Linked DNA regions of Homo sapiens: region 2 is linked to region 1. Evidence: promoter capture Hi-C in human tissues and cell types (Jung and others, 2019). All regions are on one chromosome and are shown on one strand. Each heading gives the region's core, a stretch centred on a gene start or on the middle of the fragment in contact. The rest is flanking DNA. Distances are from core to core; before and after follow the strand shown.

Region 1 (7,056 bases), core at 2,453-4,952:
CACCACGCCTGGCTTTGATGTTCCTTTCTTTTTCTTTATTTTTTTTTCAGACGGACTCTAGCTCTGTTGCCCAGGCTGGCATGCAGTGGCGCAATCTCGGCTCACTGCAACGTCTGCCTCCCGGGTTCAAACAAACCTCTGCCTCCTGAGTAGGTGGGATTACAGGAGTCTGCCATCACTACCGGCTAATTTTTGTATTTTTTTTTTTGTAGAGATGGGGTTTCACTCTGTTGGCCAGGCTGGTATCGAACTCCTGACCTCGTGATCCACCCACCTTGGCTTCCCAAAGTGCTGGGATTACAGGCTTGAGCCACCGTGCCCTGATGTCCCTTTTGAAAACTACTATGGGCTAGGCGTGGTGGCTTACGCCCGTAATCCCAGCACTTTGGGAGGCCGAGGCAGGTGGATCACCTCAGGTCGGGAGTTAGAGACCAGCCTGGATCAACATGAAGAAACCCTGTCTCTACTAAAAACACAAAATTAGCCGAGCGTGGTGGTGCATGCCTGTAATCCCAGCTATTCAGGAGGCTGAGGCAGTAGAATCGCTTGATGCTAGGAAGCCAAGGTTGTGGTGAGCTGAGATCATGCCATCGCACTCCAGCCTTGGCAACAAGAGCAAAATTCCCTCTCAAAAAAAGAAAAAAAAATGGCCGGGCGGGTGGCTCACGCCTGTAATCCCAGCACTTTGGGAGGCTGAGGCGGGCGGATCACGAGGTCAGGAGATTGAGACCATCCTGGCTAACACGGTGAAATCCTGTCTCTACTAATAATACAAAAAATTAGCTGGTAGTGGTGACAGGAGCCTGTACTCCCAGCTACTCCGGAGGCTGAGGCAGGAGAATGGCGTGAACCCGGGAGGCGGAGCTTGCAGTGAGCTGAGATCGTGCCACTGCACTCCAGCCTGGGTGACAGAGCAAAACTCCATCTCAAAAAAGAAAAAAGAAAACAGAATAACTCACAGTATTGAGTTATTCTGAATAACTCACAGTATTGAGTTATTCTGAATAACTCACAGTATTGAGTTATTCTGAATAACTCACAGTATTGAGTTATTCTGAATAACTCACAGTATTGAGTTATTCTGAATAACTCACAGTATTGAGTTATTCAGAATAACTCACAGTATTGAGTTATTCAGAATAACTCACAGTATTGAGTTATTCAGAATAACTCACAGTATTGAGTTATTCAGAATAACTCACAGTATTGAGTTATTCAGAATAACTCACAGTATTGAGTTATTCTGAATAACTCACAGTATTGAGTTATTGAGTTATTCAGAATAACTCAATGTATTGAGGGCTAAGTAGGCCAGACACGGTGGCTCCTCCCTGTAATCCCACCCGTAATCCCAGTAATTTGGGAGGCCAAGGCAGGAGGATCCTTTGAGCCCAGGATTTTGAGACCAGCCTAGGAAACATAGTGAAACTCCGTTTCTACAAAAAAAAAAAAAAATACAAAAACTAGCCGGGCTTGGTGGCTCATGCCTCTGGTCTCAGCTACTCAGAAGGCTGAGGAAGGAGGATGGCTTGAACTTAAGAGGTCGAGGCTGCAGTTAGAGGAGATCACGCCACTGCACACCAGCCTGGGTGATAGAGTCAGACCCTGTCTCAAAATATTAATTAATTAATTAATTAAATGTATTTTGTAACAACAGACAGTGACTATTTTCCCACTTCACTGACCCACGTCCTACCCCATCCTAGGAAAAGGGGAGACAGTGATTCACAACTGAATAAGTGACTGCCCTCTGGCAAATAGGGATTCCAAGTGGAACATAACCTCTGATGCCAAGATTTATAGAATGTACATGTCTTATAGATACGAATTTTAAAATTCTCAATCTCATCTGTGTAATTTAAACAAGTTTTTAGTTATTAGATTATATATACAGAACTCAACATGTCACAACCAATCATATCCAATGAACTCACCCACTCATCTGAACCCAGTCTCTCGCCCCTTTTTTTTTGTTTGGAGACAAGGTCTCGCTCTGACGACCAGGCTGCAGTGTAGTCACATGATCTCAGCTCACTGCAGCCTGGACCTCCTGGGCTCAAGTCATCCTCCCAGCTTGGCCACCAGAGCAGCTGGGAGTACAGGTGCACACCATTATGCCCGGTTATTTACTTACTTTTTTGGCGGGGGGGAGGTCTCACTATGTTGCCCAAGCTGGTCTCGAACTCCTGGACTCAAGCAATCCCCTTGCCTCAGTCTCCTAAAGTGTGGAGACTACAGACTACAGGCGTGAGCCACTGTGTCCAGACCCTCTTTCTTCATTACTGTGCTTCCCTCCCTAATTCTGTACATATCTCTCATTCTCCCCTTCTCTCTCTAGCTCTTGTTTTCTTTTCTTTTTCCCTGGGATTCTGCTCTTCATTTTGTACCCCTCTCCTCTCCTGCTATTCATCCCCTTCTTCCCTTTATTCCTTCTCTTCCACCTCTTCTCCTCCATCCTCACAACTTATTTAACCTCTTATTGCTCCTTCTCCCCAATCTTTCAATCGTCCTCAATCTCCATCTATTTCTGCCTCTTCTCCCATCTCTGCGCCTCCTCTGCTCTCCCTGTTAAATTCCATCTTCCCCGATATACTCCCTTGTCCCCACTCTGTGTCTCCCCAGATCCCAGCTGTCCTCTCTGCTGTGGTTCTCCCTCTGTTCTCCTTGACACAAGCACCACTCTGCTCTGTCTGCCCTGGCTCCAAATCCTTCCCTCTCTCCCTCACTCTGATGAGTCTCCCTCTTTGCTGCCACTCCCCCTACCTTGTGATCCTTCATCTCTCTGTACATCTATCTAGCCTTTCTCTACATTTCTCCGGTTGCTTTTCTCCTCCTGCTTTCTTAGGTTTTTTTTTTTTTTTTTCACTTCTGCCATCTCTTGGCATATCCCTCACCAATCCTCTATTTTGCCATCTGTTATGGGCCTTTCTTATTCTTCTTTTCTCTGCCTCAGGTTTTCTACTGCTCTCTGTCTCCTGATTCCTTTGGCCCACACAATCGCAACACGGTTTGGAGTAAGACGCCTGCATCCCGGAGGAGCGCATTTTCCACGCCCTGGAGCTCCGCAGGCAAGAATACCCCGTGCCGCAGGACAGGCCCCTGGGACCTCCCCAGTGCAGGTTCAATGAAAGCGGTGACTGCGGAGGGGAGACCTGGGGAGCAGCAGGCCCCGGCATGAGGAGGAAGGTGCGGGGCGGGGGGGGGGGGCGCGACGGCGCCTTAGGACCAGGATGGGGTCTGCAGGATCCCAGGACCTGGCAGAGGACTCGGCCTCCCCGGGACTGGGGCTGCGGCGCGGCGCTCCCGGGGCTGAGGAGGGGGAGGCTGGGAGGCGCCCTGGGCAAGAATCCACATCGCGGGTGAAGACTTTAAAAAGCGCGGGGCGCGAGGAGTCAGAACAAGGTTTTCAGCAGGAAAACTACGCAACAGAAAGTGTATACATTGACCTATAGCAGAAAGACCGGGGACGAGACCAGCCTCAGGACGACTTTAAACCCAAAAGGAAGCGACCCTCGGGCTCTCACGGGGATGTCTCAATTTGCTCTGGGCAAAGGAAGACGCCGGAGAATTTCCAGGTCTGTGGGGACCCCACGTCCCAGGGACAGAAGCCCTGGGAACCTAGTTAGCGCAGACTTAATACAACACAGAGCAAAACTCACCGCGGCGATATGACCTACACTCCACCCGATCCGCTTCCGGGTTTGCGTTAATCTGCGCGCGCAGGACAAAAGCCAGGCCTGGGCGGGAAGTGGGAGGTAGGCGGGGCCTGGGCGAGGTAGGGGCGGGGCGCGAGGCGGAGAGACCTTGCCTTTTAGAACCGGCAGAGGGCAGGGCCGGGGCGGGATCTGCGCGTCTCTCAGCCTCGCTCCCAGCGTCTCTGTTTTCAGGTTTTGGAGGCGAGAGCGCCAGAAAGTCTGAGGCATGATACAAAAGCCCTGTTGAGAGAAGAGAGAGACCCTCTGACATTGTTTTATATTGTTTTATAGTCAGTAAAAACAACAGGAAGTAAAACCAAAGACAGGCAGCCCCGCGCCAGGCCCGAAACCAGGCCTGGATCCGCCTGGCCTAAACCCAGTAGTTAAAAATCAACTTATGATTTAGAAGCTGATGTTAGGCATAGATTCCAGACATTGTATAGAAGAACACGGTGAAACTCCTGCCCTGTTCTCTCTCTCCCTGATCACCGGTGCATGCAGCCCCTGTCACGTATCCCTTGCTTGCTCAATCAGTCACTATCCTTTCATCTGAAATCTTTAGTGTTGTGAGCCCTTAAAAGGGACAGAAATTGTGCACTCGGGGAGCTTGGATTTTAAGGCAGTAGCTTGCCAATGCTCCCAGCTGAATAAAGCCCTTCCTTCTACAACTCGGTGTCTGAGAGGTTTTGTCTGCGACTCGTCCTGCTACACTGTAATTGTCTGGAACAGGGATACAAACTAGAATGTGAAATGCAAAGCCCTGCCTGGGCGGTATGTACCATGTCATGCTGAGGTCCCACAGAACAGATAGATATCCTCTCCCTTTCTATTGTCCATTCACTCCGGAAGGAGACTCCGCCCTGTGCTCAGCTTCAGAGACTTCCCTGAAGCCACCGCCTGGAATGCCGGACGGAGTGCTCAGGCCGAGAAGGAGTGAGGTCACCACCTGCTGCTTAAAGACAGCAGAGGCGCGGGGGCGGGAGCCTGAGGTCCCAGCTACTCAGGAAGCAGCGGCGGGAGGATCCCTGAGCCTCGGGTTCCAAGCCAGCCTGAGCGACAAAATAACGCCCACTGCCGCGGTCTCCCTTTCTTGTCTCTCTCTCTCTCTTTTTTTTTAAAAAAAACTTTCGCAAATAAAATTTTTGATTGTGTGACATAGGGATCCAACATTATTCTTTTCCATGTGGATATCCAGATAGTTGTCCTAGCACATTTATGGAAGAGATCTATTACTTTCTTGTATTATTATTATTATTATTATTATTATTATTATTATTTTTGAGACAGAGTATTTCTCTGTTGCCCAGGCTGGAGTGCAGTGGCGAGATCTCGACTAAATGCATCCTCTGCCTCCTGGGTTCAAGCGATTCTCCTGCCCCAGCCTTGGGAACAGCTGGCATTACAGGCGTGCGCCACCATGCCAGGCTAATTTTTGTATTTTTAGTAGAGACGGGGTTGACCATGTTGACCAGGCCGGTATCGGACTCCTCACTCCAAGTTATTTGCCTGCCTCAGCCTCCTAAAGTGCTGGGGTTACGGCGTGAGCCAACATGCCTGGCTAATTTTTTGTATTTTTAGTAGAGATGGGATTTCATCGAGTTAGCCAGGACGGTCTCTATCTCCTGACCTTGTGATCCGCCCGCGTCGGCCTCCCAAAGTGCTGGGATTACAGGCGTGAGCCACCGCGCCCGGCCAGAAATATTCTTTTTTTTTTTTTTTTTTTTTTTAAACGGAGTCTCACTCTGTCGCCCAGGCTGGAGTGCAGTGGCGCAATCTCGACTCACTGCAAGCTCCGCCTCCCGGGTTCACGCCATTCTCCTGCCTCAGCCTCCGGAGTAGCTGGGACCACAGGCTCCCGCTACCACGCCTGGCTAATTTTTTTGGGTTTTTTTTTTTTTGTATTTTTTTTTAGTAGAGACGGTGTTTCACCATGTTGGCCAGGATGGTCTCGATCTCTAGACCTCGTGATCCACCCGCCTCCGCCTCCCAAACTGCTGAGATTACAGGCGTGAGCCACCGTGCCATGCCGCAGAAATATTCTTTGCTTCGCTTTTTAAATGTTGACAAAATATAACTGAAAACTAAAAAGTCTCCTCCCAAATGAGAAATCATCTCCACGACGATAACAGAGAAAGAAATAAAAACCATTTTATTAATAAATAAACCTTAGACCAGAATGTGATGGGAAATAGAGGCAAACAGCTAAAAGATTGAAAAGAGAGAAAGAAACTTCACTGTTCTATACAACCCATTAAGGACATATTTTCAAGATAAATACTAATCAGTCCTCAAGGAAGAGGACTTGACAACACCCTTGGTCACACATAGTTCATCCTGGCTCTACTTGGTAATGGAGGTGACCATCTGTGTCAGCTAACTAGCGTCATCCTGAGGGAGGGGGAGAAACTCTAACCCATGTCTTTTTGGCAAGTGTGAGTTTTACAACATGGCGACAGGTGCCCTCTCTGGTGAGGCTCCTACCATACGACAGACACTGATGTCAGCAGTAAATAATAAAATTTAAAGTATATGATTAAGTACAGAGTTAATGTGAACACAGAGCTTGAAGAAAGCCACCTGGAAACATCAACTCCAAATGAATGGGATCAGCGTTCCCAAGTAGAGACGTTAAGGTTTCACACACAGGGAAAGACAGAGAAGCTTTAGCAGAATCACCACACTTTCCATTCAAGACCAGTGCACAGGCTGCAGCAACTTGACTGGTGATGATTTGATACACTTCAAGGAAAGTTACTTTATCATTACATAAGAAGGGACAATGCTCTGAGGAGGTCTTATCACTGGGGCTCTGTAGTCTTCCTAATTTTTTTATTGTTATTGTTATTTATTTATTTATTTTGAGATGGAGTCTCGCTCTGTCACCAGGCTGGAGTGCAGTGGTGCAATCTCGGCTCACTGCAACCTCCGACTCCCTGGTTCAAGTAATTCTCGTGGCTCAGCCTCCCGAATAGATGGTACTACAGGCAAGCACCAACATGCCCAGCTGATTTTTGTATTTTTTTTAGGGATGAGATTTCACCATGTTGGCCAGTATAATCTCTATCTCTTGACCTCGTGATCTGCCAGAATCAGTCTCCCAAAGTGCTGGGATGACAGGCGTGACCCACTGTTCACGGCCAGTTTTCCAAATTATTTACAGAAAAACTCCTAGAAGTTGCGCCTGCATTCCTCTGAACTCAGGTTGCATGACCACATTCCTCTCAAGGCTCAGAATTATTTAAAGGTCCATGGCTTTAAATTGGAATCACTTGATATTTGAATTACTTAATTTCCTACTGAGACACAAGTGCTATCTCTGTTGTTTGCCTTTCAGACAGAGCTCCCAAGTCCTTCGGAAATA
Region 2 (7,056 bases), core at 3,041-5,540, 65 kb after region 1:
ATGAGACCCATCTCCAATAAAAATGACAAAAGAGGAAACACATGCGTCCTGGGTCTGGGGACAGGGGGAATCTAAGGCCAATTAACACGAACCTCAGGAGGTCCTGACGATGTGTGCCCAAGGTGTTGAGGCTGCAGTTTACTTTCACACATTTTATGGACACGAGACAGCAATCAATACATAAAACATATACATTGTTCCGGTCTGGAAAGGTGGAATAACTGGAATTGGGGGGCTTCCGGGTCACAGGTAGATAACAAATGATCACATTCTTTGAGTCTTTGATCAGCCTTTCACTAAATACACAATTTATATGTGAGAGCGGGAGGAGGAATAGTCACTTACGTCTTAGACTGGAGTACAGTGGCATGATCACGGCTCCCTGCAGCCTCTACCTCCCAGGCTCAAGCCATCCTCCCAATGCAGTCTCCACAGAAGCTGAACCAGCAGACATGTGCCACCATGCCCAGCTAATTTTTGTATTTTTTGTGGAGACAGGGGTTTCACCATTCTGTCCAGGCTGGTCTTGAATACCGGGGCTCACATGACCCAGCTGTCTCAACCTCTGAAAGTGCTGGTATTACAGGCCTGAGCCACTGCATCTGGTCTCATCGCAAATTTGATATTTCTTCTTGTTTCAATTTTAGCAGAATTTACATTGCTTTGATTGAGTCTCTTTTCAAACTGATTTTACCCTTCTGAGTGCCTCAAACTAGACCCTGTTCAGACATGTTATAACAGATTTGTACCATTTTATTTTGGTGCAAAAAATGTGACATCATGCACAATTTTCTCATAACATGTATTTTTTCATGAACTTCGTGAAGACCCCTTGTACTAGCAAACTGTATTCAAGAGGATATAAAAAGGATTGTAGATATGCAAGTGCCACTTATTTCTGAGATACAAGGATGGTTCAACATATTCAAGCAAATCAATGTGATATACCACTTGAACATAATGAAAGATGAAAACCACATCATCTCAATACATGTAGAAAAAGCATTTCACAAAATTCAACATCATCATGGAAATCCTACCAAAAATAGTTAGAGAAGGAAATTTACCTCAACAGTACAAAGACAATCCATGAAACGACCACAGTGGAAATAAACAATCAGGGAAAATGGAATGCTTTTCCTGTAGGATCTCACATGATGCAAGAATGCTCTCACCCTTTCTATTCAATCAATGCTGGCTGTCCCAGCCAGAACAATGAAATAGCAATAGAAATCGAACTCATCCAAATCAGAAAGAAAGAAGTCAAATTTTATTTGTTTGTAGATGACATGATCTGTGAAGAAAATCACAGTCAACCAAAATACAACTGGAACTAATAAACATATTCAGTGTATTTGCAGAATAGAATAATAGCACCAAAAATTAGTTGAATTTCCATACATTAACATTAAATAATTTTAAAATAAAATTAAAAACCACTTCCATTTGCTAAAGAGCTTAAAGTAAGAAATATTTAGGAATAAACATATAAAGGTGAGAAGTTTGTACCTTGAAATCTACAAACATTGATCAAAATGATTAAAAACATATAAATACACATACAATCCATACTGATTGGAAAAATTAGTATTGCTCAATGATTATATAACCGAATGTGATTTAGATTCAACACAATACTCATAGAAATCCCCATAACTTTTTGTTAAAGAAACAAAAAACAGGCCAGTCACGGTGGCTCACGCCCATAATCTCAGCACTTCGGGAGGTAGAGGTGGGTGAATCATAAGATCAGAAAATCGAGACCATCCAGGCTAACACAGCGAAACCCAGTCTCTACTAAAAATACAAAAAATTATCCAGGTGTGGTGGCATGCACCTGTAGTCCCAGCTAGTCAGGAGACTGAGGCAGGAGGATCGCTTGAACCTGGGAGGCGGAGGTTGTAGTGAGTCAAGATCATGCCACTGCACTCCAACCTGGATGACAGAGCAAGAGACTCCATCTCAAAAACAAAAACAAAAAAAAGAAAAAAGAAAGAAAGAATAGAAATGAAAACACAGGCTGGGAAAAGTGGCTCCCGTCTGTTGGCCAGGCTGTTCTCAAACTCTTAACCTCCAGTGACCTACCAGTCTTGGCCTCTCAAAGTGCTGGCATTGCAGGCGTGAGCCACAGTGCCCAGCCCAGTCCTCTTAACATAAACAGTTTAATGTCAATTAATGCTTAAACTCAATGTTAAGTCAACTCAAACTCAGGTCAGTGCTCATTTAACTGTAATGTCAATTAATGCTTGATGGCTTGCTATACTAATGGCATTTGAAACAACTGTCTCCAAAAGGAATTGTCTGATGGTCTGCAAGGAGTGATCTCGGACTGAAGACCTTACCACACTGATGACATTTGTAAGATTTCTGTCCAGCATGGATTCTCTGATGTCTATTGAGGTGTGAATGTGAAGTAAACGCTTTGCCACAATCATCACACTTGTGAGTTTCTCTCCTGTATGAATCCTCCTATGTTTTGCATAGGATGAAACTTGACTGAAGACCTTGCCACAATCATGACATTTATAAGGTTTCTCTCCAGCATGAGTTCGATGATGAATAGCAATATATGAACGATATCTGAAAAATCTGTCACATTTATTACACTTGTAAGATCTCTCATTATGGATTCTCCAATGATTTGCAATGGTTGTAGCATTACTGAAAACTTTGTGACAATCATTATATTAGTCAAGTTTCCCTATACTATGGATTGCTTGATGGTGAATAAGTGGTGACTGCCCACTAAAGGCTTTGCCACACTCATTGCACTTGTAAGGTTTCTCTCCAGTGTGAATTCTAGTATGGTGTGCCAGGTGTGAATCACTCCCAAAAGCCTTGTTACAAACCTTACATTTGTATGTTTTTTCTCCAGTATGAATTCTCCTGTCTTTCAAGCTGTGATTTGTGACTGACAACTTTGTCACAGTCTTCACATTTGTAAGATTTCTCTGCAGTATGAAGACTATGATGACTTGCAAGGTGTGACTGTTGATTAAAAACTATGCCACATTCATTACACTTGTAGGGTTTCTCTCCAATACGAATTGCCTTTTGAATTACAAGGTATGAATTTTGACCAAAGGTGTTGCCACACTCATCACATTTGTAAGGTTTCTCTCCAGTTTGAATTCTAATATGTTTTGCCAGGTATGAATTATATTCAAAAATCTTGTCATAAACCTTACATCTGTGTGGTTTCTCTTCAGCATGCATTTTCTTATGTGTTTCAAGGTTTGATTTGCAACCGAAAACTTTGTCACATTCTTCCTATTTGTAAAGTTTCTCTGCAGTATGAATTCTATGATGACGTGCAAGGGTTGTTTTTTGATTAAAAACCTTGCCACATTCATTACACTTGTAAAGTTTCTCTCCAGTATGAATGGCTTTGTGACTTACAAGGGTTGAATTGTGATGGAAGGTGTTGCCACACTCATTACACTTTTAAGGTTTCTCTCCACTATGAAGTCTATGATGGTATACAAGGTTTGACATCTGACTGAAGGTCTTGCCACACTCATTACACTTTCAAGGTTTCTCTCCACTATGAAGTCTATGATGGTATACAAGGTTTGACATCTGACTGAAGGTCTTGCCACACTCATTACACTTGTAAGGTTTCTCTCCAGTATGAACTCTCTGATGCTGTGCAAGGTGTGCTTGTTGATTAAAAACCTTGCCACATTCATTACACTTGTAAGGTTTCTCTCCACTATGAAGCCTATGATGGTATACGAGGGATGACATCTGACTGAAGGTCTTGCCACACTCATTACACTTGTAAGGTTTCTCTCCAGTATGAAGCCTACGATGGATTATAAGCGATGATGTCTGACGGAAGGTCTTGCCACACTCATTACACTTGTAAGGTTTCTCTCCAGTATGAACTCTCTGATGTTGTGCCAGGTGTGAATCCCTCCGGAAAGCCTTGTCACAAACCTTACATTTGTACGGTTTCTCTCCAGTATGAATCCTCCTATGTCTTTCCATGTGTGATTTGCGACTGAAAACTTTCTCACATTCTTCACATTTGTACGGTTTCTCTGCAGTATGAAGTTTATGATGACATGCAAGGTTTGCTTTTGTACTAAAAACCTTGCCACATTCATTACACATGTATGGTTTCTCTCCAGTATGAACTCTCTGATGTTCTGTAAGGCATGAATCACTCCGGAAAGCCTTGTCACAAACCTTACATTTGTATGGTTTCTCTCCAGTATGAATCCTCCTATGTCTTTCAAGGTGTGATTTGCACCTGAAAACTTTGTCACATTCTTCACATTTGTATGGTTTCTCTGCAGTATGAAGTCTATGATGGCGTGCAAGAGTTGATTGTTGATTAAAAACCTTGCCACATTCATTACACTTGTAAGGCTTCTCTCCAGTGTGAATTATACTATGTTTTGCCAGGTATGAATTATATGCAAAAGCCTTGTCACAAACCTTACATTTGTATGGTTTCTCTCCAGTATGAATCCTCTTATGTCTTTCAAGATGTGATTTGCGACTGAAAACTTTTTCACATTCTTCACATTCATAAGGTTTCTCTCCAGTATGAAGCCTACGATGGCGTGCAAGGGTTGACAGTCGATTAAAAACCTTGCCACATTCATTACACTTGTAAGGTTTCTCTCCAGTGTGAATTATAGTATGTTTTGCTAGGTATGAATTACATGTGAAAGCTTTGTCACAAACCTTACATTTGTATGGTTTCCCTCCAGTATAAATTATCTTATGTGTTTCAAGGTGTGATTTGCGACTGAAAACTTTGTCACATTCTTCACATTCATAAGGTTTGTCTGCAGTATGAAGCGCCTTGTGAAGGAAGAGGGATGTATTGTGACCAAAGATCTTGCCACACTCATTACACTTGTAAGGTTTCTCATCAATGTGAGATCTACGATGGCATGCAAGGTATCGCTTCTGATTAAATACCTTGCCATATACATCACATTTACATTGTTTCTCTTCTAAGTGGGTTATCTGATGTTTTTTTAAAAGTGAGCTACAATTAAAGGATTTGCCACTCTCAATACATTGGAAAGATTTTTCTCTCATGTGTACATTCCGTTTTTGTGTGAGTAATGAAGAATGGAGGGAATTATTTCCATACTTATTAGAAATATGGGTTTTGGGCCTACAACAAATTCTTTGGGATGTTGAAACTGAGGAAGCATTGTTGATAGACTTCTCAACTTGATTACCAATTTTCCCTTCAGGCTGAAATATGTGCAGTTCAGGCAGATGCGAATGAAAGCTTAATCCAAGCTGATCTTTAATATGCTTGTTTCCAGCATGCCTTTGATCATGTTGGCCTGTACTACCAGTCAACTCTTTGATTTCTGTCATGGGTGCTGCATGGTCATTTGTTTCATCTTCTTTCCACTGAAACTGGAAGCCATGAATGTCTTTCTCAATTTTCTGGAAGCAAAAATCTCCAATGTGATGACTTGCTTGTCTTTGCAATGTCCCTGTGTGGAACGCTTCTGTATTGCCTTGCCCTGTTGAGAAGAATGTCTTCATCATGCATTTGGAAGAGATATCTACAAAATATAAACACCAATAGGTTTCCAATGAAGTACAGATGGTGTATAATACTGAAATGTGTAAATATGACACAAAAAACAATACTTATTTTAAACTTCCCAAACATGATCTTCAAAGTTTAAGAACACAAAAGGAGTAAGATTCTTTAATAAATAAAGGGCGATTATATGTCTTTCAAATCAATTCCATGAAAGTCTATTTCCTATATCATGACAAAACACTGACAGGGCACAAACATGTGTGAGCCTAAAGTAAGGAGTGTTTTTCCACTGTGACCCTAAAGTGTATCACACTTTGCAAAAAACACATCACTATCACATCAAAAAAAGAAAAATATATATTCTTCATATTTACAGCGTATTTAGTGTATACAAATAAATGCTAAAGAACCACACAATATACTATATTGGTAAATAATCCAAAACAAGCTGTTGTAAGGATAACCAAAATCAATGGAAATTCTGTATTGTCAAACAATCATAGCACTGACAAGATAACAAAAGATTATAAAAATTAGCCAGGTATGGTGGCCCGTGCCTGTACTCACAGCTACTCTGAAGGCTGTGTCACAAGAATTGCGTTAAGCCAAAGGCAAAGGTTGCTGTAAGCCAATATTACACCACTGCACTCCAGCCCAGGTGACAAAATGAGCCTCCATCTCAAAAAAACAAAAAAACAAACAACAAAAAAAGGCAGGGCATGGTGGCTCATGCCTGTAATCCCAGTACTTCTAGAGGGCAAGGCAGGCAGATCACCTCACGTCAGGAGTTTGACCAGCCTGGCCAATGTGGCAAAACCCCATCTGTACTGAAAATACAAAAAGTAGCTGGCATGGTCACAGGTGCCTGTAATCCCAGCTACTTGGGAGGCTGAGTCAGGATAATCGCTTGAACTTGGGAGGCAAAGATTGTGGTGAGTTGAGATCGCACCACTGCACTCCACCCTGGATGACAGAGTGAGACTCCATCTCAAAAAAAGGAAAATGTTAATACCATATTTTTCCAAATAACTGTTACAAAATTACCTATATCCATGTGGAACAGGCACGTTGTGACTTTTTTTTTTTTTTTTTGCGACGAAATCTTGCTCTGTCGCCCAGGCTGGAGTGCAGTGGCATGATCTCGGCTCACTGCAAGCTCCACCTCCCGGGTTCACGCCATTCTCCTGCCTCAGCCTCCCCAGCAGCTTGGACTACAGGCACACACCGCCATGTCCAGCTAACTTTTTTGTATTTTTAGTAGAGACAGGGTTTCACTGTGTTAGCCAGGATGGTCTCGATCTCCTGACCTTGTGATCCCCTTGCCTCAGCCTCCCAAAGTGCTGGGATTATAGGCATGAGCCACCGCACACGGCCGACTTTTAAAAAAAATTTTATGTATTTTTATTTTTTTGAGATACAGTGTCACTCTGTCACCCAGGCTGGAGTGCAATGGTATGATCTTGGCTCAATGCAACCTCTGCCTTGGGGTTCATGTGAGTCTCTTCCTTAGGTTCTGAGCACCTGGGAAT

What was found. The method cuts DNA at HindIII sites, captures the fragments that hold promoters and counts their contacts. A contact is called where the count stands out against the background at its distance.
Region 2: a contact is called between a fragment that was not itself captured here and the fragment with the promoter of ZNF611 in region 1, in 2 of the 25 tissues and cell types used here (IMR-90 fibroblasts and bladder).

Annotation. Positions count from the first base shown.
Region 1 is chr19:52,731,342-52,738,397 of GRCh38, forward strand. It overlaps ZNF611 (zinc finger protein 611), which reads right to left and starts at 3,703. Exons shown (of 6, transcript NM_001161499.2): 1 at 3,660-3,703. LOC124904760 (a long non-coding RNA gene) reads left to right here and starts at 2,690. Exons shown (of 2, transcript XR_007067328.1): 1 at 2,690-3,119; 2 at 3,453-4,363. RefSeq lists enhancers at 3,691-4,676, 3,989-4,118 and a silencer at 3,739-3,808. The HindIII fragment of the contact is 18,911 bases long and covers 1-7,056 here.
Region 2 is chr19:52,796,160-52,803,215 of GRCh38, forward strand. It overlaps ZNF28 (zinc finger protein 28), which reads right to left. Exons shown (of 4, transcript NM_006969.5): 4 at 1,249-5,543. The coding sequence ends at 3,529. It also overlaps a transcript of ZNF600 not described here. Among named protein-coding and RNA genes, the nearest start is that of ZNF600, 13 kb to the left of the region's middle. The HindIII fragment of the contact is 4,514 bases long and covers 2,034-6,547 here.